Linked DNA regions of Homo sapiens: all the other regions are linked to region 2. The links are contacts of gene promoters, found by promoter capture Hi-C in human tissues and cell types (Jung and others, 2019). All regions are on one chromosome and are shown on one strand. The core of a region is centred on a gene start or on the middle of the fragment in contact, and the rest is flanking DNA. Distances in the headings are between cores, read along the strand shown. Region 1 overlaps LOC101927314 (a long non-coding RNA gene). Region 2 holds the start of POU3F2 (POU class 3 homeobox 2). Region 3 has its middle 200 kb from the start of MIR2113. Region 4 overlaps LOC101927314 (a long non-coding RNA gene). Region 5 has its middle 300 kb from the start of MIR2113. Region 6 overlaps LOC101927314 (a long non-coding RNA gene). Region 7 overlaps LOC101927314 (a long non-coding RNA gene).

What was found. The method cuts DNA at HindIII sites, captures the fragments that hold promoters and counts their contacts. A contact is called where the count stands out against the background at its distance.
Region 1: a contact is called between a fragment that was not itself captured here and the fragment with the promoter of POU3F2 in region 2, in 2 of the 25 tissues and cell types used here (dorsolateral prefrontal cortex and lymphoblastoid cells).
Region 3: a contact is called between a fragment that was not itself captured here and the fragment with the promoter of POU3F2 in region 2, in 1 of the 25 tissues and cell types used here (dorsolateral prefrontal cortex).
Region 4: a fragment that was not itself captured here is called in contact with the fragment with the promoter of POU3F2 in region 2 in 1 of the 25 tissues and cell types used here (dorsolateral prefrontal cortex).
Region 5: a fragment that was not itself captured here is called in contact with the fragment with the promoter of POU3F2 in region 2 in 3 of the 25 tissues and cell types used here (H1 embryonic stem cells, dorsolateral prefrontal cortex and heart left ventricle).
Region 6: a fragment that was not itself captured here is called in contact with the fragment with the promoter of POU3F2 in region 2 in 1 of the 25 tissues and cell types used here (H1 embryonic stem cells).
Region 7: a contact is called between a fragment that was not itself captured here and the fragment with the promoter of POU3F2 in region 2, in 1 of the 25 tissues and cell types used here (dorsolateral prefrontal cortex).

What each region holds. Positions count from the first base shown.
Region 1 is chr6:97,658,753-97,662,885 of GRCh38, forward strand. The region is part of intron 3 of LOC101927314 (a long non-coding RNA gene); the gene reads left to right. Among named protein-coding and RNA genes, the nearest start is that of MIR2113, 360 kb to the right of the region's middle. The HindIII fragment of the contact is 6,000 bases long and covers 1-4,133 here.
Region 2 is chr6:98,832,417-98,836,368 of GRCh38, forward strand. It overlaps POU3F2 (POU class 3 homeobox 2), which reads left to right and starts at 2,158. Exons shown (of 1, transcript NM_005604.4): 1 at 2,158-3,952. The coding sequence starts at 2,458. The coding sequence ends at 3,789. RefSeq lists a silencer at 2,099-2,168 and enhancers at 2,807-2,876, 2,875-3,471, 3,472-3,952. The HindIII fragment of the contact is 21,173 bases long and covers 1-3,952 here.
Region 3 is chr6:97,823,679-97,827,546 of GRCh38, forward strand. No RefSeq gene overlaps it. Among named protein-coding and RNA genes, the nearest start is that of MIR2113, 200 kb to the right of the region's middle. The HindIII fragment of the contact is 4,404 bases long and covers 187-3,868 here.
Region 4 is chr6:97,425,642-97,429,369 of GRCh38, forward strand. The region is part of intron 1 of LOC101927314 (a long non-coding RNA gene); the gene reads left to right. Among named protein-coding and RNA genes, the nearest start is that of MMS22L, 140 kb to the left of the region's middle. The HindIII fragment of the contact is 4,910 bases long and covers 1-3,728 here.
Region 5 is chr6:97,717,903-97,721,817 of GRCh38, forward strand. No RefSeq gene overlaps it. Among named protein-coding and RNA genes, the nearest start is that of MIR2113, 300 kb to the right of the region's middle. The HindIII fragment of the contact is 5,166 bases long and covers 14-3,915 here.
Region 6 is chr6:97,631,973-97,635,939 of GRCh38, forward strand. The region is part of intron 3 of LOC101927314 (a long non-coding RNA gene); the gene reads left to right. Among named protein-coding and RNA genes, the nearest start is that of MMS22L, 350 kb to the left of the region's middle. The HindIII fragment of the contact is 6,336 bases long and covers 1-3,967 here.
Region 7 is chr6:97,609,782-97,613,453 of GRCh38, forward strand. It overlaps LOC101927314 (a long non-coding RNA gene), which reads left to right. Exons shown (of 5, transcript NR_110757.1): 2 at 2,387-2,558. Among named protein-coding and RNA genes, the nearest start is that of MMS22L, 330 kb to the left of the region's middle. The HindIII fragment of the contact is 4,357 bases long and covers 152-3,672 here.

The DNA of each region.
Region 1 (4,133 bases), core at 1,339-3,838, 1.2 Mb before region 2:
CTTATTTTAAGGAATTCCAAGCAAATTTCTAGTATTAACTCTGAGATTTGGAAATGTGAGTTTGCAATATTGTTTAGGCCAGAAGAATCACTCAAAGAGAAACAGAATTATCAATATTTTCTTCACAGATGAGGGGCAGTTAGGGTTGTCAGGTAACATACATGATACCTAGTTAAATTTGAAATCAGATAAACAATGAATCAATTTTTAGTATATCTTAAATATTGCATGGGATATAATTATATTAAAAATTCATCCAATGTTTATGTGAAATTCAACTTTGAGTATCCTGAGTCCTGGTTTTTGGTTTCCAAATCTTGCAAACCTAGATAAGACCAAAACATTAAGAAGTGAGTGACTATAACCTGGATAGCAATCTAGAGATTTGGTCATATGGGTTCTGTCCCAGAATTTCATATGACAGTGAGCCAAGTTTTTTTTTTTTCTGCACTGGTAATAAGTCTCCAACTAGTTTATTGAAATATTGTGTAGATAATTTTAACTTAAACAAATATAGCTTAAACACTCAGAATTTTTTGACAGCAAGTCACATATAAGTAAAAGGAGGTAGAGTGATACCCCAAAGACCAATTAAAGGTCTTTTGAGACTGGCAAATTCAACCTACTTGAATTGAGACACAGACCTGCCATCTACAAGAGAACTAATGAAATGACTTCCATCATCTATAATGAATTGTATAAGAAAGAAAATATTTTATTCTTGACAGAGAATTGAACTTCCTTACGAAATGCAAAAGTTGAAAGGAAGGTTTGAAGTTCAAATAGGTTATAGGGAGAAAGGGGACAGGGATTTGAATGAAAATTGTCTAATTCAAATTTTGTGTGCAAAACTCAAATTAGGTAAGAAACATGTGACTTTAGGCTTTACAACTGGCATTGTCAGAGGAGTTGTCAGAGCCCAGGTGCCCAGCTTTGCCTTAATTACTTTTTCCCCCCCAAAGTATTGTTTTAAAACATTTGATGATATAGATGTTTAACTGTTGGACTATTATACTGTATTTTTTTTAATGAAAAAGAGTAAGTGGGATTCAGTGTCAAATTATTTTCTCAGAATTTTCCACTAGCAAATATAGGCTTATTTAAACCAGGGCTGTCCAATCTTTTGGCTTCCCTGGGCCACATTAGAAGAAGAAGAATTGTCGTGGGCCACACATAAAATATACTAATATTAACAATAGCTGATGAGCTAAAAAAAATCACAAAAAAACTCATAAGATTTTAAGAAAGTTTACAAATTTGTGTCGGACTGTATTCAAAGCTATGCTGGGCCGCATGTGGCCTGCAGGCCACAGGTTGGACCAGCTTGATTTAAACCTTTGCCAAATACTCTCATGATTATTGCACTCAGGTGTAAGCTATTAATATAGTATCCAATTGAGAGTGTGCTAGTAGCTGAAATGGCAAAGATGTATTTTATTTGTAAGGCATAAACATAAACAAGGAATTGATTAATTGGGCATACTTTCATAGATGTCATTAGATAATTCCTTTTTATTTCAATACATGAAATTTACATAGAACGAAAACCAAAATTTGTTATTTTTTATATGATAGGCAACCTAATTTGTAGCCCTCTTTTTCACTGCCACCCAAGAAATAGAAATATTGGAATAATATTCTTAGCCCCCAAGTTTTATTTTGCATTTTTATTGTTGCATGTGGTAAACACAGAAGAATACATTAAAACAGTTGACACATTTTTGCCCTATTGTTAGCATAAGTGTAAAATGAGATGTTTTCAAAAATCAATCATCATGTATTTATTGATTTCCTATTGTAAAGTATTATAATACAAGTAATATAGGCTGTTAGGCTATATGCTATTTTTAAAGTATTTACCTACACTTCTCTCTCTCTCTCTCTCTCTCTCTCTCTCTCTGTCTCTATTTGACCTATCTAAGATAGAAAGAGAGAGAGGGAGAGAGAGAGAGAGAAGTGTAGGTAAATATTTTAAAGATACCTTATCTAAGATAGATAGAAGTGCAGGTAAATATTTATAAATATATATATATATGTAGAAGGGTCAACTCAATTTACCAATAAGTACAAAGAAAATATTAGTAAGTACAAATGCACTAAAATAAACTGAATTCATGAAGAAAATTATATCCATCAGATTAAAAATCCCTTATTATTCTGACAGTTCTACCTACATACTTATCTGCATTCTCATTCTTATTTCCTCCTTTCTTCCTTTACAACTGAATAAATGTCTCCTCTCCTTTCTGGGCCAAGCTCTTGACTTGGGCCCTGAATTCCTTCTTTTTCTGCCTTCTCAGGGCTTTTGCAATAGGGGTTGTCCTTTCTGTTTCCTTTACCTTCAACCTTTCTCCACCAACTCCTTCCCGTGAGTTCTCAGATACACTCACATTCCTGCTATCTTAAAATCAACAGTTTCTTCATGAACTCCCCTCTCCAGCTATTGCTTAGTTTCTTTCTCCTAAAAGCCACAATTTTGGAAAAAGGTGTCTACATTTTCCCTTTGTACTTAGTCTTTTATTTCTGTGCTCAGGACCCAAATGAGAATCTCGTTTCACTGAGGTCACACAGCACTTCCGTGGGGCTAATTCCAATGAATATTTTTAACCTTCATATTAGTTGCCTGTGAATGGATTTTGATCTACATTACCACATTTTTTTGCCTTTTATTTTATTTTATTTTATTATTATTATACTTTAAGTTTTAGGGTACATGTGCACAATGTGCAGGTTTGTTACATCGGTATGCATGTGCTGGCTTTGAAAACATACAACCTCCTGGTATTTTTTCTCCCTCTCTCAGTCTTCTTTTCCTTTGCCCAGGCTTTAAATGTTGATGTTCTTCAGGATTCTGGCTTGGGGACTCTTCTCACTCCACACTCTTGGGGATTCTCATCCACTCTTCAGCACTGAGGTACAACTTCAGACCGAGGACTTATGTTAGTTTCTCTATTTCAGACCTCTCTGCTGAGTTCCATTTCTAGAAATACAATGTATTTCTGGACATCTTCACTTGATTGTCTTTCAGACATCTCAAACACACACTGTGTGAAACTTATCTTCTTTCCTAAATTGCTTGAACAGCCTTTTAAACTGACTCCCAGACCACAGCCTTGCCACCCTCCAATCTGCTCTCCACACATCAGCCACAGTAATCAAACTCAAGTCTTTTCATATTGCTTCTTTGATCTGCCTGCATATAATCCATCACTGACTTGCTATTCCCAAAGTCTAAATTCGTTAAGGTTTCCCAGGCCTTCTGAGATCTGTTCCCCATTCTTTGTAAGCTTCATCTTTTCCCTTCTCTCTCACACATTCTAGGGTAAAAATATACTGAACAATTTATTTTTCTGTTCCTCAGGTACACTCCCCTATTTTTTATCCACTTGCTTGTCATACATGGAATTATCTCTGCCAAGAACACCCTTCCTTCCTTTTTGTCTTGATCTACCTTTAGATCCCATTTCAGTTGTGCTATTCCTTTCCTCTGAAAGTTTTCCTGGTATCCCCATCCGCCCAGACTAGATTAGACATTTTAAGTGTGTGCTCCTGTGTCTACTTATATTTTCTCATTGTAACACTTGGAGACATTTTACTATAACTTTCTCATTGTCTGCATTTTAAGGTACTGCAACTCAGGCAGCACAATTTCTGAAGTCTCGGGTGCTAAACTAAAATTTTCCCAGAGACCAAAAATAATGTGAAATCCAATATAATTAAGACTGCGTAACAGTTCTCTGAATTGGCCACATTATGCAATTCATGTATTTATTCATAAAAATATTTATTTAGGATACTATAGAAGTGGTTAAGAGGGCAGACTCTGAGGCTAAGCTAGATTGCTTGGGTTCAAATCTCAGCCCTACATGCATGATTTACGATCAAGTTGATTAAGTTCCTTATTCAGAAATTAGGAATCAAAATAGTACTTACTTTATAGGATTATTGTATTAAATTATGTATTACATATAAAGTGCTTAGGACACTACCTGGATAATAGTAAGCACTGTGCAAGTGCTGAGCACGGCTAGTTCAAAGGTTTTTAGGGGCCAACACTAATACTACCTGCCATCATAGAACTTACAGATAGTGTAGGAGAAACACATTAAAAAAAAAAGATTTCTTACCTCTCT
Region 2 (3,952 bases), core at 908-3,407:
CGGGCTGTCTGTGCGCTCCCCAAGGCCCAGGGAAAGTCACGCGCCTAGCACAGGGGACGCAGGGCCGAAGCCGGGAGAAGGCGGTTCTGCCCGCCACCCAGCCCCTTGGCTCGCGGTTGCGGAGCCGCGGGCACCAGTCGCTGAGTCTGCGCGCTGAGGCTCGGACTTGTTCATTTTTTCCTAGCTAGACAAAGTTATGGGATTCCTAGCAGCCCCCAGGCGCGCGGCCAGAGTGGCCCCGCGCTTGCGCTGGGACGGAGCGACACGCTGTGTGTGTCCTCGCCTCGCCTCGCCGCGCGGGTGCGCGCGTGGTGGGGGTGCAGGTCCGTCCTGCTGGCGGCCTGTGGGCTCGCCCCTCCCCTATCCATTTCTCTCCCCCACACACGCTCATAAACACAGGACACGTGGAAATTCTCAGCCAAAGCGTCTTGCCCGGGCGGGTGCTCAACGTGGTGATTTATAAACAGCTCAGCCACTCTCCAAAGAGCATGACTCCTTGTTAGTCATGATGAATTTTCTGGCCCGCTCCAGTCTGCTGTCTGGATTCAGATGCTCAGAGGCCCCAAAATGCTCCCTCTGAGCGTTGATTTGGCTGCCCTCTCAAGCCTACGACCGCCGGCAAAACCAGCGATAGAGCGAGGGGTGAGAGGTGGGGACGCGATCCAGGTTCCCTGGGGTCTGTCATTCCCTTCCCGGCAGTAACTGTTGATTCGCTTTACAGCGCCCATGTACACACCCGGCCCTGCGTGGCGGTCACGCCGCTCCAGCCTGGGTCCGCGCCCAAGTTCTAGCTACCGGGCTTGCAGGCTCGGAAACTCGCAGGCGGCACCTGCTCTGGGCGGCTAAAGAACTGATGGCGCGACGCGCCCGCGCTCCGTAGAGCGGCGCTGCGGGTGCATGGTCCCATAGTCTTGCTCTGGAGTTCACTGCTGAAAGCTGAGCTGGGAGCTTGGCCAGGGAGCGCCAAAGACATAGACTAACCCCACCCGCTAGCGCCCACCGAAGTTACTGATTAGGAAGGTTCCCCTGGCATCAGCCCATTTGCTTCACACACTCTTCCTCCTTCCCAAGGGGCTAACGGAAAAGTTGCACCTACCAGCGGTAGGAGCACGGGGAATCGCGCACGCAGGCCCTCCGCGCGGCTTCCCGGAGCGGCCTTTGGCGACTGCGCCGCCCCTACAAGGCCGCACACCCCTCGCCAGCACTCCGGCAGCCTCGCACAAGACGGAGCCCACGCAGGCTTCTAGTTTTCTAAACCAAAAACTGCACGCGCCGGCGTGTGAATCTGACGGAGAGACTTTTAGAGTTTTGTTTGGTTTTCAGTTCAGACCGCTACGCTGTCAGAGCAAGCAACTCCGAGCCTTGATGGGAATGACTTACAAGCCGCGGTGCGGGCTGAGCCTGCCTCTCTCGGGGTTCTTTCCCCAAGGGAGTGGGAGACAATTGGGCCTGGAACCTAAAAGGAAGAGAGCCTGTGCTAGCCGCGGGGTAGAGGGGAAGGAGAAGAGCTTTGGGCCGAAGTGTCCGCACACCCTGGAGCAAGAGACACTTGTGCACTGAAATTCTAACCGTGGGATGCAAGGAGAGTTGAACAGGGGAACAGGTCTGGCTCTTGGCTCTAGGTTTAAGAGATACACACTGTGTGTGTGTCCCTAGGTGAATAAAAATCCGACTCCCGCTGGCTCGGTGCGACCCAGCTTTTCCCTTACCCCCTCCGTTTCCCCATCTTAAAGCCCTATTGGGAAACGAAAGTGGACACCACTGCCTCCCGCCCCCCACCCCAATCCAAGTCTTCCAAGTGTCTGTGGCCGATAAGAGCACCGGGACCGCCCCCCTGCCGGTCTTCTCTGCCTGGGAGACAGATGGGGGGCGGGGCCCATCCGAGAGAGGGCGGAGGAGGCCCCGGGTGAGGAAGAAGCGGGGGGGTGAGAACTGAGAGAATCTGAATCGGGAGGCGAAGGGGACGGGGAGGAGGGCTAGGAGGACTCCGAGCCCGGGGGAGGGGGAGGGAGTAGCTCTGCGCCAATCAGTGGCGCCGGCCTGGGAGGTTGCTAGCGGTATCCACGTAAATCAAAGGGCGCGGAGCCAATGGGAGGGGGCGGAGGGGGCGGGGCCCAGGCGCGTGCCGCTGCGAGCCGGCGCTGCCAAGAGAGCGGGAGAGAGCTGGAGAGAGCAGGGAGAGGGGGGAGCGCCGAGCTAGTCAGAGAGTGAGCGAGAGCGAGAAGGAGGGAGAGGAGGAGAAAGAGAGCGAGGGCGGGCGGGAGGCGGCGGCGGCGGCAGCAGCAGCAGTAATAGCAGGAGCAGCAACAGAAGGCGTCGGAGCGGGCGTCGGAGCTGCCCGCTGTGGGAGAGAGAGGAGACAGAAAGAGCGAGCGAGGAGAGGGAGCCCGAGGCGAAAAAGTAACTGTCAAATGCGCGGCTCCTTTAACCGGAGCGCTCAGTCCGGCTCCGAGAGTCATGGCGACCGCAGCGTCTAACCACTACAGCCTGCTCACCTCCAGCGCCTCCATCGTGCACGCCGAGCCGCCCGGCGGCATGCAGCAGGGCGCGGGGGGCTACCGCGAAGCGCAGAGCCTGGTGCAGGGCGACTACGGCGCTCTGCAGAGCAACGGACACCCGCTCAGCCACGCTCACCAGTGGATCACCGCGCTGTCCCACGGCGGCGGCGGCGGGGGCGGTGGCGGCGGCGGGGGGGGCGGGGGCGGCGGCGGGGGCGGCGGCGACGGCTCCCCGTGGTCCACCAGCCCCCTGGGCCAGCCGGACATCAAGCCCTCGGTGGTGGTGCAGCAGGGCGGCCGCGGAGACGAGCTGCACGGGCCAGGCGCCCTGCAGCAGCAGCATCAGCAGCAGCAACAGCAACAGCAGCAGCAACAGCAGCAACAGCAGCAGCAGCAGCAGCAACAGCGGCCGCCGCATCTGGTGCACCACGCCGCTAACCACCACCCGGGACCCGGGGCATGGCGGAGCGCGGCGGCTGCAGCGCACCTCCCACCCTCCATGGGAGCGTCCAACGGCGGCTTGCTCTACTCGCAGCCCAGCTTCACGGTGAACGGCATGCTGGGCGCCGGCGGGCAGCCGGCCGGTCTGCACCACCACGGCCTGCGGGACGCGCACGACGAGCCACACCATGCCGACCACCACCCGCACCCGCACTCGCACCCACACCAGCAGCCGCCGCCCCCGCCGCCCCCGCAGGGTCCGCCTGGCCACCCAGGCGCGCACCACGACCCGCACTCGGACGAGGACACGCCGACCTCGGACGACCTGGAGCAGTTCGCCAAGCAGTTCAAGCAGCGGCGGATCAAACTGGGATTTACCCAAGCGGACGTGGGGCTGGCTCTGGGCACCCTGTATGGCAACGTGTTCTCGCAGACCACCATCTGCAGGTTTGAGGCCCTGCAGCTGAGCTTCAAGAACATGTGCAAGCTGAAGCCTTTGTTGAACAAGTGGTTGGAGGAGGCGGACTCGTCCTCGGGCAGCCCCACGAGCATAGACAAGATCGCAGCGCAAGGGCGCAAGCGGAAAAAGCGGACCTCCATCGAGGTGAGCGTCAAGGGGGCTCTGGAGAGCCATTTCCTCAAATGCCCCAAGCCCTCGGCCCAGGAGATCACCTCCCTCGCGGACAGCTTACAGCTGGAGAAGGAGGTGGTGAGAGTTTGGTTTTGTAACAGGAGACAGAAAGAGAAAAGGATGACCCCTCCCGGAGGGACTCTGCCGGGCGCCGAGGATGTGTACGGGGGGAGTAGGGACACTCCACCACACCACGGGGTGCAGACGCCCGTCCAGTGAACTCGAGCTGGGGGAGGGGCAGAGCGCGGGGCTCCCCCTCCCCTTCGGTCCTTGGCCCTTTCCCGGCCCTCTTGTTCCCTCTCTAACTTCTGATTGTTCTTTTATTTTTAATTATTATTTCCCCGTCCCTTAAAAAGACAAAAAAAATAAGGCAAAAGGAAAG
Region 3 (3,868 bases), core at 1,139-3,638, 1.0 Mb before region 2:
AGCTGGTGCAGATGGAGAGAAAAGAGCTCTGGAAGGAGAACTTCAATCAAAAAGCCAGCTTAGTTCTTAAGTTAAAAGTAATCCTGGGTTTTGTGGGTCCTGAAGCTTATAAAATATGGGAGGGGTAGTCTTGTTTGGGAGAAACAAACAAACAAACATAAAAATTGTAACATTTTCAACATAACTATAAAGAAAGACTTTGTGGGCAAATTGCTAGGTCCCACTCAGGGCCATGGAAGGGGTCTGTGCAAAGGAGGGCCCCTGAAGCTTAAGCTTTTCCTAAAGTTGCCTTTGAATGAAGGCCAGTCTCTAGAGATTAGGCATAGGATGCATCTAGCTGTAATAGCCAAAGGACCTGAGACCAGAAGTCAGAAGAAGAAGGTTCAAGCAGAGACTGGAAGGGGCAGATTGTGGAAAGATAAGATGCTAAGTTAGAGAAGACCATAACAATGTCTATAGTTTACCCCTAGTCTTCTGTGGTGGGGGAGGTCGCTATTTAGGATGTCATTCTGTGTGAGACAACAAGCATGATCATGACCCTGAAAATAAATGTTTCAACCAAGTACACATGGACATAAAAATAGGAAGAGGAGATGCTTGGGACTACTAGAGGGGTTAGGCAGGGCAGGGGATGTGGCTGAAAAACTACCTTGAAATTATGAAAAATAAAAATAAAAAATAACAAACAAACAAAAAACTTAGCATTAACCAACAATGGAAAATCATGGTTTGAATGAGTACTTTATGACTGACCTTTTTCACTCAAAGCATATCTGAACTCTGAGGTTTGGATAAAACAAAGAAATAAAGTTTTCATTATTTCCCCATAGGAGCTTCAAATATGTAGCAACACTGAGTGGAAAAAAAAATGTACTAGTAGTTTTCTAACAGCTTGTACCTTACCTAATATTAACCCGCTGGGCATATGGGAACTGTAAGGAATCTGGACGCAATAGTAAGCTTTGGTTGAAAAAAATGCACCGATCAATAGCTTGCATTACTGTAAAAATCCTTCTGGGCTTAAAATTTTATTTTCTTGTATTATGATAGAAACCCTGAAGAGCAAGAATGAGGGCTAATCAAAGAAATAGTAGAAAACAGCATATATGTCCCAATACATGATGGTCTTTATCAAGAGCATTATGGTTTCCACACGGAAAGCTATATAGTAGTGGAATTTTTTTTTTTTTGTCTTAAGTCTCCATGGTGCTATTTCAGGGTGCTTTTTACAAAGATTTTCTAGCAACCAAGTAAGCTCAACAACATATCTTAAAATAGAAAAATAATTATTCCCATAGTTGTGTATATATGTACACACACATACCTATGTGTATGGTACTATTTGTTTCTCTTTTAATGTTCTACTTGAACACTTAGGAATTAATCATTTGATTTTTTCCTGGAATATAACTTTTACTTGTATTCTTTATGTCATTGGCTGGTGTTGTATATGTATCTACGAAAATTATTTTTATCATAAAATGGATATATCACTGGATAAACATAAAATATAAGGAAACTAATTACATAGAGCCACACTGTAGCTGTTTGGTTTTAGAATAGTTTGGTATGTGAAATATGTAAACATATGATTAATATTATGCATTTGCAGCCTGTTTCATTGAAGAATGCAATTTATTTGCTTCTTTTTATTTCTCTTCTCCAGGAGAAGGAAGTTGATAGGAGTTGACTGGAGTCTTAGAGAATAGTAGAATTAAGGAAGTTAAATCAGGGTATAGGGAAGAGAATGGTACATGAGGCTTAACTCATGAAGGGGAGGGAAAAAGTAGCTGTAGAATGCAAGTCCAGAATTAGATGTGCACAAGGAACTCACAGATTCAAGGGTCTCTGCATGTGAGGAGGCAGATCTCATTAGGAGAAACTCCTCCCCCCTGAGAGATCATACCTCTCATTTTTCTTCCTTAGTCAACCTGTGGCAATGATTGCAGTTAAAGCAATAATTCAAAAATGCAGACCTAAAACCTAACCCATCTATTTCCCTTTTAAACCCCTTTGTTGACTCCTTTTGATCTATGGTACATTTTGAACCTCTTAGAATGGCCTTACCTGGCACTTGTATCCAGTCTCCAGACTCAGGTCCCACTAATATGTCTCATGCCTTATATTCTGGCATAAAAATCTGGTTGTTGTTTCCTGACCATCCTGCATACCTGTCTTGGGGATCTTCTCTCTGACTAGATGCTTTCTTCACCTTTTCCTGGCCAAATTAAACTCATAAGATTCAGCTAGAACATCACCTATTCCAGGGAATCCTTTCCTGAAAACCTCCAGGCCTAACAGCATATGTAAATCACTATATTCCCAGAACACTTGAAAGGATGTCAAAATTAGATTACATTGTATATTTATTATTATTCTCTTGAAGACAGAGACCATATTAAACTTCCCTATAAGATTCTGACCAGTTCTATTGTTTGTGTACTAATAGTTTTAACTGGGAAGGGTGGCAAATAAATTGTGGAGTGCGTTGAACTTCATACAGGCAAAAATTTAGGAACATACAAGTATCTCAATTGAAAGGATTATTTTTATATAAGATAATTTTATTTATATTCAGAAAGATGCTTGTGTTTACTTGTTTGGGGACTTTCTATACCAGGCAAGCCCTTTTACATGTGTGAAGTGAGACTGCAGGTGAAGCCATCTGGCAGATCACATATTCGGTGTTCCTAGTAGCATGGATAAAAGACCTTTAAATAAAATTTCAAATCTATCTAAATTAGGACTGGATGCATGATTCTGAATGTAATTGATTTGGCAATATATGCCACCAAACCTCAAGAAGGAGACACATACTTGTTTGGGCGTAAAAATTGATGACATTGAGCTGGAAAACTATTTAACACACAAAGCTAAACAAGATTTCTCAAGCTCTAGGAAGTGATTCAACGTAAACATAGACTGGTTTGGGGAAAAGAGGGTAAAACAGCATCTGTGTTTTGTAGTCCGTAACAACTATACCCAAGCGTCAGTTCGTGCTTCTGAGAACTTTTTCACTGTTTTCCCTACATCAAATAAGTTTGAACCCGATTTATATGAGATTCTGCACCCAAATCTAAATAATTAGAAATAAACTTTATCACTTTAGAGATTGATGGTAAAACAGGGGAAATACCTAATTTCTCGAAGAAAATAAGAGACTGATAAGAACCAAACAACCTATTTCTTAATAACATGATCTGGAAATGAAATGATTGTTTGTAATGATTCAAATGAAATGTAACAGCAGACTGGATGAAAATTTCATTTTATTAGATAGTAGCATTGTAATTATTTTTTAATTACCACATCTGAGTTAGAACAAAAAGCTTGATAGTGTTTGGAATCATAATTTAAGGTCAAATAGATGCATTTAAAAACATTCTAGTTTAAATTTGTCAGCATAAGATCCATGAGGGGAAAACAAAAACAAAAACAAAAAAACCTAAGAATTTGGGGAAATGGTGCAATGCTTTAGCTGGATTATGGTGTAGAATGCGGTCTGTTTGGTGACAGTCAATATACTGCTATTAAGTATGAACTAACCTGGTGGCCCACAACATGTGCATGGTGTCTGCTTTTAAGAATTCTTTTTTTTTTTTTTTTTTTTTTTTTTTTGAGACGGAGTCTCGCTTTGTTGCCCAGGCTGGAGTGCAGTGGCGCGATCTCGGCTAACAGCAAGCTCCGCCTCCCAGGTTCACGCCATTCTCCTGCCTCAGCCTCCCGAGTAGCTGGGACTACAGGCGTCCGCTACCACGCCTGGCTAATTTTTTGTATTTTTTGTAGAGACGGAGTTTCACCGTGTTAGCCAGGATGGTCTCGATCTTCTGACCTCGTGATCCGCCAGCCTCCGCCTCCCAAAGTGCTG
Region 4 (3,728 bases), core at 330-2,829, 1.4 Mb before region 2:
TTTTTAGTGCTGAAATCAACATCTCTTTCCTAAAACAATTCATTCAGTCTCTAATTCAATTGATGGTACCAAAAACCAGTCAAGAAAGCCATAAAGCTCTGTCACTCTTCCCATTCCCTCACCCCTGCTCCAATCAGTTACTTATCCAGCTGATTTTTGCATGACAAATATTTCTTAAACTATTCCTTATTGCTATCTCCACTGTCTCTGCCCTAGTTTAGGTCTTTCTTTCTCTGATTTTGAATATTGGCTGGAAGAATCTCCTAATAGATCCCTGAGACCCTAGCCATCTCTTCTTTGAATCACATGCCACATCAGGGGTATAGATGTAAAACAAAAATATAATTATATCAATTCTCTGCTACCTTCGTACAGATCTACTTAACCTACAGAATAAGCTCTTTAACATGGCACCCAGGGTTTTCCATTATCTGCCCTTGTCTATACCTCTAGCCTTCCATCTCCACAATCCTTGTCTTATGTTTGATGTTCTAGCACAGTAAATTGTTCATAAATACCTAAACACACGTATCTTTCTGCCTCCAGTGCCCTTCTGTAGGCACTCCTCTCCCCGGCCTACGTTTTCACCAGCCTGCATTTAAACTCTGAATATTTAAGACTCTTCTAAGAGATCGTGGATCCTTTACCTTTAAAAAGTAGGAATTGTAGAATCCAAGTCTGTTAGAAAACTTAAAAATGATACAAAAAGAAGATAATCTCTTTTTTTTTTTTTGAGACGGAGTCTCGCTCTGTCGCCCAGGCTGGAGTGCAGTGGCGCGATCTCGAAGATAATCTCTTAATAGCTACCAATTATTGATCCCATACCATATGCCAGACTCTATACGTGGTGCTGTCGTGCTTTCCCATCTAATGCTCACAGTAAACCTGAAAATAGGCATTATTAATTCCATGTAACAATCAAGCAACTGAGGTGCAGAGAGTTGTGTGTCTCATCCATGTTCATGCAGCTAGGAAGTGATAGAGCCATTATATAAACCTCAATTCATTTGTTGATAAAGTCTGCTTATAACTGCCTCTATATAAAAATATTATAATACTGTCTGTGGTTTCCAAAAATAAGATACCAGAGAAGATTCCAGGGAAGGAAGTGGAAAAACATTTTTTATGATTTAAGTATACAATATTTAGGGCATATATAGGCATATATATAGGATATACACAGCAATGGCCTTCCTTTTCTTTTCTCCTCTGGATACTTACTCACTTAACAAAGATTTAAGGGCTCTCCTACTACTTCCAGGTCCTGTGCTAAAAGATGCTTTAGAAAAGTTCCCTTCTTTTAAGAACATGTGATTCTTTTTGGATTCTTTTGGCTTTCTCATTACCAAAGCCTACACTTCTCTAGAAATAACAGAGGGAGCTTAGAGAGGAGGGCCTAGAAAATGTTCAGTGCCAGACTTATTAATTTGAATATTACACTCATAATAATGATGATGATAGTAAAAATGTGTGTCAAGCTTTATGTTTCACATATTGGACATGGCTTTTGCATATATTATTTTATTTAATCCCAACAAACCTTTGAGGTAGGTACTATCGTAATCTCCATTTTCAGATGAGGAAACTGAAGCACAGAGAAGTCAAATTATTTGTCAAAAGTCAGACAGATAAAAACTCCACAGAGTTGGAATGTAGACCCAAAAACCCATGATATATGTTATAAGTACTCTAATAGCATATATAAAGAGTGTCTTTGGAATGCAGTGGATGGAATTTTGCTTAAGTGTGTAGTTGAGAGGGAAGACTTCACAGAGGTGGTGTCTTCGACCTGGATTCCAAAGCAGAAAGCTTGAATTTTCCAAGCCAAGGAAATGGAGAATGGTGTTTCTCATAGTAAGAGAAAAATAAATATAAAAGCCTGGAGGTTTAACAGTGGTGATTTATTTTCAAGAAATGGCAAGTAATTCAGTGTAGCTAGAAATGGAAAATTAGAGTAGATACACAGTTTGTGGTCATATCATAAATGGCAAGAACTGTCAGCAGGGAGTGGGAAGCCATGAAGCAATTTTAAGAAAAAGGGAGAGAGATGATAATAGTAACAGTTAACATATAGCTCTTGCTATATGTCAGACACTATTTTAAGTGCTTTACATATTTTAACTCAGTTAATACTCATAAGAATCCCATGATGTACATAGACTGTTAATTATTATCTCCAGTTTATAGCTGAGGAAACAAGCAGTGAGGTTAATAAGTTGTTCAAGAATCATAGCTAATAAGTTGCAGAGGTGAGAGTAGAACTCAGATTGTCTAGTTTCAGAGTTTTTTGTTCTCACCAGCATACCATACCACATTTTTTATGAGTTTTGAAGAAAATCTCTCTGGAGGCAGCATAGGGAATTAATTAAATAGGTGGCTAGACTGGAAACAAGGAGAACCACTTGCAGTGGTCCACGTAGGAGATACTTGGGGTCTGAATCAGGTTAGTGGATATATCCTCCAAAATCAGAGTGGAAAATTGAAAGGAACTGTAACTGGCTTGTTACAGTTATTGATAAAGATGCCCAAGATGACAGGCTTATGCTGGTTGAAAACTCAAATGATTACAGAGGGAGCAGTTAGGTAATTTAGAGTCGGGAACATGTGCAAGTCACTAGATAGTGGTGGAGACTGTGGGGATTATAGAGCACATACTTGGTCTAAAGAGTGCACTTGCTCGGAGGCTCCAGTGGGTTTCTGCCATCGAAATATGAGCCATGTACTGTCTGATATTGTACTCTAATTTCTTTTCTTTTCTTTTCCTTTTTTTGAGACGGAGTTTTGCCCTTGTCACTCAGCTGGAGTGCAGTGGTGCAATCTCAGCTTACTGCAACCTCCGCCTCCCAGGTTCAAGCAATTGTACTCTAATTTCTTAAAAGGAGTTTTAAATTTGAATCTTTATGGAGAATCTGCTGATTTTTAAATGATAATAAATAATTTAGAAACAGAAAAACAATCCTGTATGACTCAGTCAAAACAAATCTTCCAGTTGAATTAAACCTGCAGCTGTCATTTACAATCTTTGCAATAATTCTGGATTTTGCAACTGAGAGAATATTAATGTCTATAGAGGATGTAGGAATAAAAGCAGGCTGGAGGATAGGCAAAAATGCGTTAGGAGTTTTGGATGTATTTTTGTGGATGTCTTGTTGGGTGGACCAGAAAAATGATTGGAAGCAAATAGTGTCATGAAGTAGAAGGCAGAAAAATGATCTTAAGAGCATAGATCAGTATGATAAGATGGAGAGAATTCCTATCAAAGTGTGATAGTCATAATTAACATCATCATTGCTGTCATATTGAAGGCTTAATCTGTGCAAAGCATATTCTTAATTTTACATTTAAGTTTACTGTCAAGCTAACATTTAGCATTTTTAGGATTAAATGTTGATCTCATTTAATCCTAAAAACAACCCTCTTAGGCAGACATTATCATTATTATTATTATCACTGTACCTATTTTATAGATGAGGGCAAGTCTTAAAACAAGTAAGTGGAAGAACTGTGACTCAAACCCAGATTTTCCTGTTACTAAAGTTTTTATTCATCTGGAAATATAAGTGGGAGTGTAGAGAAGACGGCCTAGAAATGTGCAGCACCAGCTTTCTACATACCAACATTTAAAAATTAAAACTTTTAATTTGAGATAATTGTAGATTTATGTACAGCTGTAAGAAATAATACAGAGAGTTTATATGTACATCTGACCCAGTTTTCCTCAATGGTAA
Region 5 (3,915 bases), core at 1,347-3,846, 1.1 Mb before region 2:
AAATATTCCCTATGATCTTACCACTTGTATATAATTACTATGAACATTTTGTTACATATTGTTCCATTCCTGAATTATATGTTACATCTATACTATACATTATATTTAGTAAACATGTTTAAAGTTTTCAAATAAAAATGTAACCATGCTGCAGATACTCTTTCCTACCTGTTCTTTTTTTTTTCTTAATACATTGGTGATTTTTCTATCTTAGTTAATTTGTATTAATTCATTTCTTTTTATAATTGTTTAATATTCTATATTTTAAAAATTATTTATTGATGGTATTCAAGTAGTTTCTATGACCTTTGATTTTTCTCTCAACATGTATTCCTTAACATATTCTCTTCTCCAATTCCTGCTGGTGGAACTTGGGGATGTCAAAACAGTGCAAAGGTGCAGTCTCCAGTAGGAATGGACAAAAGAGGGAAATTGTGACAATTCACGTGTGAGAGAAAGTCACAGTTCTACCTAGGCTTTATTTATTTTTTCTTTCCTTTTGGATTTATTGAAGTGGTCTAAAGTTAGCTGGGGTATTGTAAATCCCACATTCCCTCTTTACTCACCCAGCTTCTCTTATTGAAGAACACCAAGGTAAAATACAAGCTTCATACAAACTGTGCATCAGATGAAGTAAAAATAAACAATGGGCCACCCTTCTGGGAGACAGCCTCCTCTAGGAACTGTCTTTGCTTTATGTCGTACTGTGTAGACCTTGGGGATTTTCTGAGTTCTGTTGGGGAAACCTAACTACTCAGTTTGTAAGTTCTTCTCCTTTGTTAATGTTGAATAACAGGCCAGTCAACAACAATCAGTTTTTCTTTTAATCTAAGTCATTCTCCTTCACAACTTCCAGAAAAGAAAAATTAATGTTTCTTGACCATTGACAGCTTCTGTATTTTAGCAATACCAAGTATTTTTTAAAAGTTGTTTTTGTATTTTTTCATTTTTAAATTTGCTTTTTAATTTTTTCATCATGTCAGTGATATTTTACAGGGATGTGTAGACTCAATCATTATTGAAATGGAATGTTGACCCTTTAAGGTTTAATGGGGAGGAAGAAGATGAAAATATTTAATATCCTTGTTAAACATGGGCTGGCATCATGGGATGTTGCTGATGGAGGTGTTTCACATTTTAATCATGCCAAAGAACCACCAAACTCCTGGGTTGGTGTAAGGACTGGAACACTAGACAGAGATGCAAATGTGTATAAAGAAAAGGTAATAATATTTTGGGAACATGCTCTCTTGACTTCGCTTGGTGTAGAACAGACTCAGTAATTGAATTACCCTGTGGATAGGATTGTGATGTTGTAATAAGGTCCTTTGCTCTTTTAGATACTAACGATTTATTGATGTTTTCAAAAGAACCTTTTTTTAACTGTCTTCTTGGATGAAACAAATATTATAATCAATTTTTTTAAGAGCTTGACTTTCTGATTTTGTTACCTTAAAAGTTCTTTCTCTGTGTTTGGATAGAATTTCAGTTGCTGCTGGCTGGCAGCCATTCTTGAATGAGAGAAGAGAGTTGTGCTGGCAGGCGAATGAATTTGTCCTACATGTCCTCTCCAGCAGAATGTCATGTGGGGTCAACTTCTAGTCCCAAGTTTGATATCATCTGATGAATTCCTCTGTACAGATATTCTGATTCTTCCATGTTATAGTATGGAGCTGCTTCATAGATCTTTGGTTATGTGGACATTTGTATATCTACCATTTTTCTATGCCCAAACAGATTCTGGATGAATCTGTTTTTAAAAAACTATCTGGGATCACCAATTAAATGATTTTCCTGATGCTAGGGTCAGTGATTGTTCGAGCTCAGTAGAAGCTGTGGTGTCTTGCCTAGGTCCCCCTTCCTGGGTTGTTGCACTTATTCCTCAGCTGCTGGCAATGCTGTTTGCAAATGTATCAGAGCTCCCATCCACCCACCTCCTAACTCCTCATCTCTCCACCCACTGCGCCCTAAAAATTGCCCTTAGCTATTAGGAGCAAACTAGCCAAGGAGGCTGTGACACTTCTTTCCTCCTTCAGGAATGGTATGTAAACAATGCCTGGAATATACAGGGCTATAGAAGTCTAGCTTTCTTGCCTCAAAAGGGAACAACACTCCAGTGGGATTTATATTTCAGACTCCCTACAATACAAATGGATCAGCCCAAGACTACACTTTACCCGAGACCACATTCTTGATCACCTCTTTCTTCTTCCCTATCCTGCTTTATGCTCACTCTTAGAGGCACTCCTGAAAACATCTTCCTCAATAAAGCTCTAAAAACCCTGGATCAGGCTTTGTTTCTAGGGAAACTGGCTTAAAATTCTATCAAAAGTGGTCTTAGAAAGCAGACCTCAAGAATGGCATCCTGAAGTTAGAAACTTGAGAGCTGGCTTATACCAATGACTTATCACTGGTGGTAGCTTCTGACATGCAGCCACAGTGCAATTGCTAAGGTTATCACTGAGGTCAACTTGGATGGGATATGGGCAGAAGAAGATGCACTGGTTTGTGCAAAATCTCTGGTGTTGGAGAGGTACAAGAGAAATATAAATTTGAAGGTCTGTGGAATTCAGAGGCTATTTCTGAATGCCATTGATGTTTCAAAGAGATGAAATAACAGGCTCAGGGCAATCAATCACCAATTTAAAGCCAAGTATGAAAGTCAGAGGGCCTCTTTGGCAGCTTGTAAACAGACCTTCAGTTCCTACAGCTGGAGGGCAGATGAACTGAAGAACAGGCATAGGACTTAATTATAAAAGTCACAGAACTAAAGAGAAAGCATAATTCCCAGCCATGGAAAGTCTTATATGCCAAACTCAGAGTCCTGAAAAGTAAAGAAAAGGGCACTGAAACTTGGGATAGGGTTATCTGGGTATATATAGAGTAAATCTTCACTTAATGTTATTGATATTTTTTTGGAAATGGTGATTTTGAATAAAATGACACATAATGAAACAAAATTTACCATAGACTAATTTATATAAACAAGAGTTAAGTTCCTATGGAATATTTCTGGTCAAAAAAAAATCACCAAACTTCTAAATAAAGACCCCAAACACTCCTAATATTAAACACTGACTTAAGTGTGAGCAGTACACACACTTAAGAAAGATTAATAAAAACACATAAGATAATTCTTTACCCATTTTTTTTTGGTGAATCAGTGAGTGATGGTGATCATGGTGCAGGTGGGTTAAATGAAGGAATAAATGTTTGCAAAGCAAAAATTGTAAGAGCACCTCTTGCCAGCACACAGTTCAAATGCAAATAAATATTGTGGGCTCAATGGGCACTTTCTCCCTGCATCATTTATTGTTGTGCATTTGTGTGATTATCATAGACTTGAAGAATTTTTATTTGATAGTAATTTGTGTTCCATTCATTCATTTATTTTCCAACCCACTTGTTCCAGTTCAGGGTCAAGTGTGTTAGGAGCCTATGATGGCAGTTGAGGGCAGAAGTAAGAACCAGCCCTGGACAGGGCTCCATCCCATCATTGCAGGGCATACTCACACATACACCCATGCACACTCAGACTGCGACAACGTGGACATTCCACTTCACCTCATGTGTACATCTTTGGGTTGTTGGAGGAAATTGGAGTATCTAGAGGAAATCCATGCAGACATGGAGACAGTGTACAAACTACACAAACAGTGGCTCTGGCCAGAATGCCAGAATGGATTGCTTTTCTTATCAATGTTACAATACAATGACATCGAATGAAACAATGTTATTTGAGGATCTGCTGTACATGTAATCCTTGGACTCCCAGATTCCCCTGGAACTTTTGGGTTTGTACAGTGGTCCCCCTTGTTGAAAGATAATGCCTCTGCCACCTCTTGGTTGAAGACTGTGAGAAAACTCACATGAGGCAGGCAGATGCTTTACAGGATGTTACTAAGTACTTCTGGA
Region 6 (3,967 bases), core at 138-2,637, 1.2 Mb before region 2:
TTTAACATTCATGATAATCTTAGCATTAGTGCTTGCAAAATAAAAATTTTTTAATTTATATCTTTTGTTTTATATTTACTAATAGACTTTCTTCAAGGAAGAACTTTCTCTTCCCCATCTCTTTTATTTTTTAAAATATCATTATGGAGTTAGGAATTTTTAAAATATTTGATGTGTTATCATCCATTGCCATCATTATTTTTTTGATTGCTCAAATTATCCCAAATATGTGAAGTAGAAGCCCCTTCAAGTTGACCTCGTGTCGTTTGATATAGCCTTATCAATCTTTGAGCATTTTCTTTGCTTTCTGTCTCAGCAATATGTTACAAACCTACCTTGCACTTTCCATGCCTAAGAGCTGGAATCAACCATTTCTCCAAAGAGCTCTGGTTCCTTATAGTGGGGAATTGTATTTAGAAACCAAGATTCAGGTTCATCATGTGCTTATTCAGTCAGTCAATGCAGTATATGTATCTCTTATACTGAAAGCTGCATTGCAGAGTTCTTTCACACTATCTCTTATACTGAAAGCTGCATTGCAGAGTTCTTCCACACTTCCTATGTTGGAATCTTACTTTTTCCACAGTGAAGATCCTGACTGTCAACACCAATATATTTATTCATTTAGTGTATTTTACAGCACCCACAAAATATTTTCAGAATTACTACACCGATACCACTACCAACAGCAAACTTGCTAAGTAAACTTAAAGTTTTTTAAAGTTCTTTTTGTCTTTAAAATGTATTCTACTAGGGGTTAATAATCACAGTACTGTGTTCAAAAATTTCTGAAATTGTGTGTGTGTGTGTGTGTGTGTGTGTACGGACACGTATGTTATAAATTTGCTATAGCTAAATTTGTTTCTGTTTCTGTTCAATTTTAGTGATTTTTTTTGGATTCTTGATTTAATTTCTAAATTTACATAAAGAAGTGATATGCTTACATATCAAATGCTATATATATATATATTATATATGGATGAATCAGAAAAGTTTGATTCTTTTTCCTTTCTCTTATACTTTTTTCCCACTTTTCATCTTTAGGTAACAATTTTCATTAGTTTCTGGTTTTTTTCTGAGTGTGTCTATTTTCACAAATATATACACAAATGTATTAAGCAATACATACACAAATAAACATGCTTAATGTGTGTCTTCATTCTCCTCATTCTTACACAGTAGGTTATAATATATATTTTTACATTTAACAATATATCCTGGGAATCACTCCTTAGCAGTTTACTGGCAACTTCTTTAGTGTTTTGTATAGCTACAAAGTACCCATTTTTGGATATTCGGTAATGTATAAAAATCTATTGCTTGCTACTGCAGGGAATTTAAGTTGTTTTCAATATTTTGCTATTATAATTAATGTTTCAATGAATACACTTAAACACTTATACATACGTTTTGTAGTTGTAGAGATATATCCTCAGATTAAATTTTTAGAAGTGGAACTGCTGGATCAAAGGATAGGTTTTGTTTTGCTAACTTTTGCTAAATTCCCCTCCACAGGATGGTATAATGTGATGTTCTGACCAACAACGTATGAGGATGTGTTTCTTCACAACCTCACTAGCAGGGTGTATGGTGAAGCTTTGGATTTCTGTCAACTTGATAAGGAAGAAATGGTCAGTCAGTGGAGTTTTAATTTACGTTTTTATAAATTAAGTGACTGGAAGCATCTTACATGTATTTTAAGACTGTTTGTATATGTTTTTTTTTCTGTGGAACATATGTTCATGTCTCTCTCATTTTTCAGATTTCTTTATATTTTTGGAATATTAACCTTTTATCTGCAATATATGTTGCAAATATTTTCTCACATTTTGTCATTTTTGTTTTGATTTTGCTCATAGTGTTTTTTTCCTGCAAAAGGTTATTTTAAAATATTTTATGTAGTTTAATTTATCTTTTATTGTATCTGGATTTTGTGGTAGAAAGGCTTTCCCCATATCAAGGTTAAAAAGGAATTAATCTATGTCCTGTTCTAGTATATATATGATTTCATTTTTTATATTTAGATATCTGATCTATTTTTAGTTTATTTTTGTATATTTGAGGTACAGATCTGATATCACATTTCCCCAAAAGGAGTGATTGGAAATGGTGTATATATATGTGTATGTATATATATACACACACACACACACGTACACATGTGTGTATATATATATACACATATGTACATACATATGTACACACGTGTGTATATATACACACACATATACACACATATACACATATATACACATATATACATATATGCACATATATATACATACACACACACACACACACACACACACATATATATATAATATATATAAAATTTACATACGTACTGGGCTTTCTCATTGATTCTGTTTATACTCCTGTAACACCGCGCCTTGATTATATCTTAGTATTTGTTTGGCTAGGCACTCTACTGCTGCTTTTGAGGATTATTCTAGTTTTTCTACCGTAATTATTTTCCTTAAAATTTTAAAATCAACTTATCTAGCTTCAAACATATTGTTCTTTGTATTTTTATGGAGTCATGTTGTTTCTAGATTAACATGGTGAGAATTGCCATCTTCGTGGTGTTGACTCAGACCATCTAAGAACAGATAGTTTTCCCTTTAAGTTCACTTTTCATTCGGAGTATTTTAAAGTTTTCTTTAAAAACCTTTTTAACATCACTTGTTAGGTTTACTTCTAAGTACTTCATTTTTTTTGGTGGCCATGAAAAATAGCATTTCTCTTACATTGTATCTTCTAATTAATAATTTGTATATATGGAGTACATTAATTTGTGTATAGTATTTCTCTTTCTACTGTTTTAAATTTTATTTTTGGTTTCAGTTTAGTCATTAAATCCTCGAGTTTTTTATGTATACTATCTTGTCATCTTCAAATAGGATGCTTTATACTTCTTTTATGTTCTTATGTCTCTATTTCCTCATATCTAATTTCATTGATTAATATCTCAAATGCAGGATTATAATTGGAGACAGTGAACATTTTGCCTTTTTCCTGCCCATAAAGGGAGTGTCTTTAGTGTTTCCTATTAAGTCAAATAGGTCAGATACTGGCTTTAGGATACACACAACACACACATACACACATCTATTTTATTTAAAATGGGTGCTGAAATGTGTTGAATCTTCTTTTAAGTTTTCAACGTTTATGGAATCAATCATGTGGTTTTTTTCTTATATTTACTAATATGGTGAAGTACATTGATGCACTGATGGATTTCCAAATATTAAGTTGCCCTTGCATTCCTGGAATAAATACCATTTGACCATGATGTATTTTTTTTGTATAAACTATTGGACTCTGTTTGCTAATATTTTAATTACAATTTTGAAGAAATATTAATAAATGTTATTTTAATTTCTTAAAGCTATAATTACTAGGTTTAGGTATCAAGGTTTTGTGTACTCTCCCAAGAAACACAACAGAATTTGGAAGTTTTTATTTTTCCCCTTATGCTCTGGAATTATTTAATATCATTGGACTTCTATTTTCATCCTTGGAGATTTCCAGAAATTGCCCTTTGAAAACATCTGGACTTGGTGATCTGTATGTGGGGTAATACTTTACTAATTTTCTCTATTTCTGCTGTGGAAATTGATTTGTTTACACTTTCAGTTCCTACTGAGATCAATTTGGTAAAAATATTTTTCTTTAGAATTAGTCATTTCATCTAGATTTTCAAGTTTATTTGTTGTGCAAAGTAAAAGGTAAAAGTCACATGATTTTGAAATTTACTCTTATTTTAATGTTTATTTTGTCCCCTGTAGTTTATTATTTCATGTAGTTTTGCTTTCTTTTAATGATTAGTCAATGATTTGTTTTGTTTTTTAATTAAAATACTAAATTTCTACTATTTTGTGTTTTCTAACTTTATTAATATCTGCTTTTATTTTATTTTGTTCCCTTTTGCTTAGGTTTACATTTTGTCCTTTTCTAGCTGTTTCAA
Region 7 (3,672 bases), core at 1,080-3,579, 1.2 Mb before region 2:
ATTTTTTGGTTTCAATTTCATTTAGTTCTGCTCTGATCTTTGTTATTTCTTTTTTTTTGCTGGGTTTGGGTTTGGTTTGTTCTTGTTTCTCCCGTTCTGTGAGGTGTGACCTTAGGTTATCTATTTGCATTCTTTCAGACTTTTTGATGTAGGCATTTAAGGCTATGAACCCTCCTCCTAACACTGTCTTTGCTTATTCCAGAGGTTTTGTTAGGTTGTGTCACAATTATTCAGTTCAAAGAATTTTTAAATTTCCATCTTAATTTCATTGTTGACTCAATGATCATTCAGGAGCAGGTTATTTAATTTTCATGTATTTGCATGGTTTTGTGGGTTCCTTTTGGAGTTGATTTCTAATTTTATCCGACTGTGGTCTGAGAGAGTCCTTAATATAATTTTAATTTTCTTAAATTTATTGAGACTTGCTTTGTGGCCTATCATATTGTCTATCTTGGTGGTCTATCTTGGAGAATGTTCCATGTGCTGATGGATAGAATGTATATTCTGCAGTTGTTGGGTAAAATGTTCTATAAATATCTGTTAAGTCCATTTGTTATATGGTATAATTTAAATTCGTTGTTTCTTTGTTCACTTTCTGTCTTGACCTGTCTCGTACTGTCACTATTGAAGTCCTCCATTATTATCATGTTGCTCTCTGTCTCATTTCTTGGGTCTAGTAGTATTTGTTTTATAATTTTGGGAGTTCCAGTGTTAGGTGCATATATATTTAGGATTGTGATATTTTCCTGTTGGACAAGTTATTTTATCATTATAAAATGCCTCTCTTTGTCTTTTTAAATTGCTGTTGCTCTAAAGTTTGTTTTGTCTGATATGAAAATAGTGACTCCTGCTCGCTTTTGTGTCCATTTTTATGGATATCTTTTTCTACCCCTTTAACTTTACATGTGCCCTTACTTGTTAGGCGAGTCTCTTGAAGACAGCAGATACTTGGTTGGTGAATTCTTACTCATTCTGCCATTCTGTATCTTTTAAGTGGAGCATTTAGGCAATTTACATTCAATGTTCCTATTGAGATGTGAGGTACTATTCTATTCATCATGCTCTTTGTTGCTTGAATACCTTTTTTTCATTGTGTTTTTGTTTTATAAGTCCTGTGAGATGTATGCTTTAAAGAAATTCTATTTTGGTGTATTTTGAAGATTTGATTTAAGATTTAGAGCTCCTTTTAGCAGTTCTTGTGTTGCTGGCTTAATAGTGGCAAATTCTCTCAGCATTTGTTTGTCTGAAAAAGACTGTATTTTTCCTTCATTTATGAAGTTTAGTTTCACTATATAAAAAATTCTTCACTGATGACTGTTACTTTTACATACATGGCACTAATTATTTCGAGGTATGTTTCTTCAATGCCTAGTTTCTTGAAAATTTTTTTTTTATCATAAAGGACTCTTGGATAAAGAAAGTGTGATAGATATACACAATAGAGTATTGCTCAGACAGAAAATAATGAGATCCTGTCATTTGCAACAATATGGCTGGAACTGGAGGTCATTATGTTATGTGATTTTAAAGATAAAATCAACAAACTCTTAGCTAGACTAAGAAAAAAAGAGAGAAGACTCAAATAAAACTGAAAAGGAAACATAACAGTGGGTGCTTCAGAAATTTAAAAGGCCCATAAGGGATTATTATGAATAATTATATGCCAAAAAATTAGATAACCTAAAGGAATTAATAAATTTCTAGATACATACACTGCACCAAAACTGAATCAAAAAGAGAGAGACATCAACAAAATACTAGCAAACCAAATTCAATAGCACAACAGAAACTTAATTCACCATGATTAGGTAGGCTACATTCCCAAGATACAGGGTTGGTTCAACATATGTAAATCAATAAATGTGATTCACCATGTAAACAGGATTAAAAACAAAATCCATATGTTCTTTTCCATTGGTCTGTATAGCTACTATGTTGAATAGGAGCAGTGAGAGAGGGCATCCTTTTCTTGTGCTGGTTTTCAAAGGGAATGCTTCCAACTTTTGCCCATTCAGTATGATATTGGCTGTTGGTTTGTCATAAATAGGTCTTACTATTTTGAGATATGTTCCATCAATGTGTAGTTTATTGAGAGTTTTTTTTACCATGAAGGGGTTGTTGGATTTTATCGAAGGCCTTTTCTGCATCTATTGAGATAATCATGTGGTTTTTGTCACTGGTTCCGTTTATGTGATGGATTACGTTTATTAATTGTGCACATTGAACCAGCCTTGCATCCTAGAGATGAAGCTGAGTTGATCGTGGTGGATAAGCTTTTTGATGTGCTGCTGGTTTCAGTTTGCCAGTATTTTATTGAGGATTTTCGCATTGATGTTCATCAAGGATATTGGCCTGAAATTTTCTTTTTTTGTTGTGTCTCTGCCAGGTTTTGGTATCAGGATGATGCTGGCATCATAAAATGAGTATTTTTCTTCAGACTTCAGACTGCTGTGCTGGAAGCAAGAATTTCAAGCATTGGATCTTAGCTTGCTGGGCTCCATAGGGGTGGGATCCACTGAGCTAGACCACTTGGCTCCCTGGCTTCAGCCCCCTTCCAGGTGAGTGAATGTTTCTGTCTTGCTGGTGTTCCAGGTGCCACTGGGGTGTGAAAGAAAAATTCCTGCAGCTAGCTCACTGTCTGCCCAAACAGCCGCCCCGTTTTGTGCTTGAAACCCAGGGCCCTGTTGGCATAGGTACCTGAGGGAATCTCCTGGTCTGCGAGTTGCGAAGACTGTGGGAAAATTGTAGTATCCAGGCTGGGCAGGGTCCCTCACAGCTTCCCTTGGTGAGGGAAGGGAGTTCCCTGACCCCTCGCACTTCTAAAGTGAGGCAATGCCCCACCTTGCTTTGGCTTGCCGTCCGTTGGCTGCACCCACTGTCTAACCAGTTCCAGTGAGATGAGCTGGTTACCTCAGTTGGAAATGCAGAAATCACCTGCCTTCTGCATTGATCTCACTGGGAACTGCAGACCAGAGCCGTTCCTATTTGACCATCTTGCCAACCAGGGGAAATCAACTATTTCAAATTTTTTTTGAGGACCCTCCAAACTCTTCTCCATAGTGGTTGTACTGATTTACATTTCCACTAACATTGTACCAGGGTTCCCTTTACTCCACATCTTCACCAGCATTTGTTATTGCCTGGATTTTTGCATATAAGCCATTTTAACTGGGGTGAGATGATATTTCATTGTAGTTTTGATTTGTATTTCTCTGATGATCAATGATTTTGAGCACCTTTTCATATATCTGTTTGCCATTGTATGTCTTCTTGTGAGAAATGTCTATTCAGATTTTTTGCCCATTTAAAATATTGGATTGTTAGATATTTTCCTATAGAATTGTTTGAGTTCCTTGTATATTCTGGTTATTAATCATGTGTCAGATGGGAAGTTTGCAAATATTTTCTTTTATTCTGTGGGTTGTCTCTTCACTTTGTTGATTGTTTCCCTTGCTGTGCAGAAGGTTTTTAACTTGATGTGATGCCATTTGTCCATTTTTGCTTTGGTTGCCTGTGCTTGTGGAGTATTACCCAAGAAGTCTTTGCCCAAACCAAGGTCCTGGAGGGTTTTCCCAATGTTCTCTTTTAGTGGTTTCATAGTTTGAGGTCTAAAATTTAAGTCTTTCATCCATTGTGATTTTAAGCAAGAAATAGGGGTCTTGTTTCACTCTT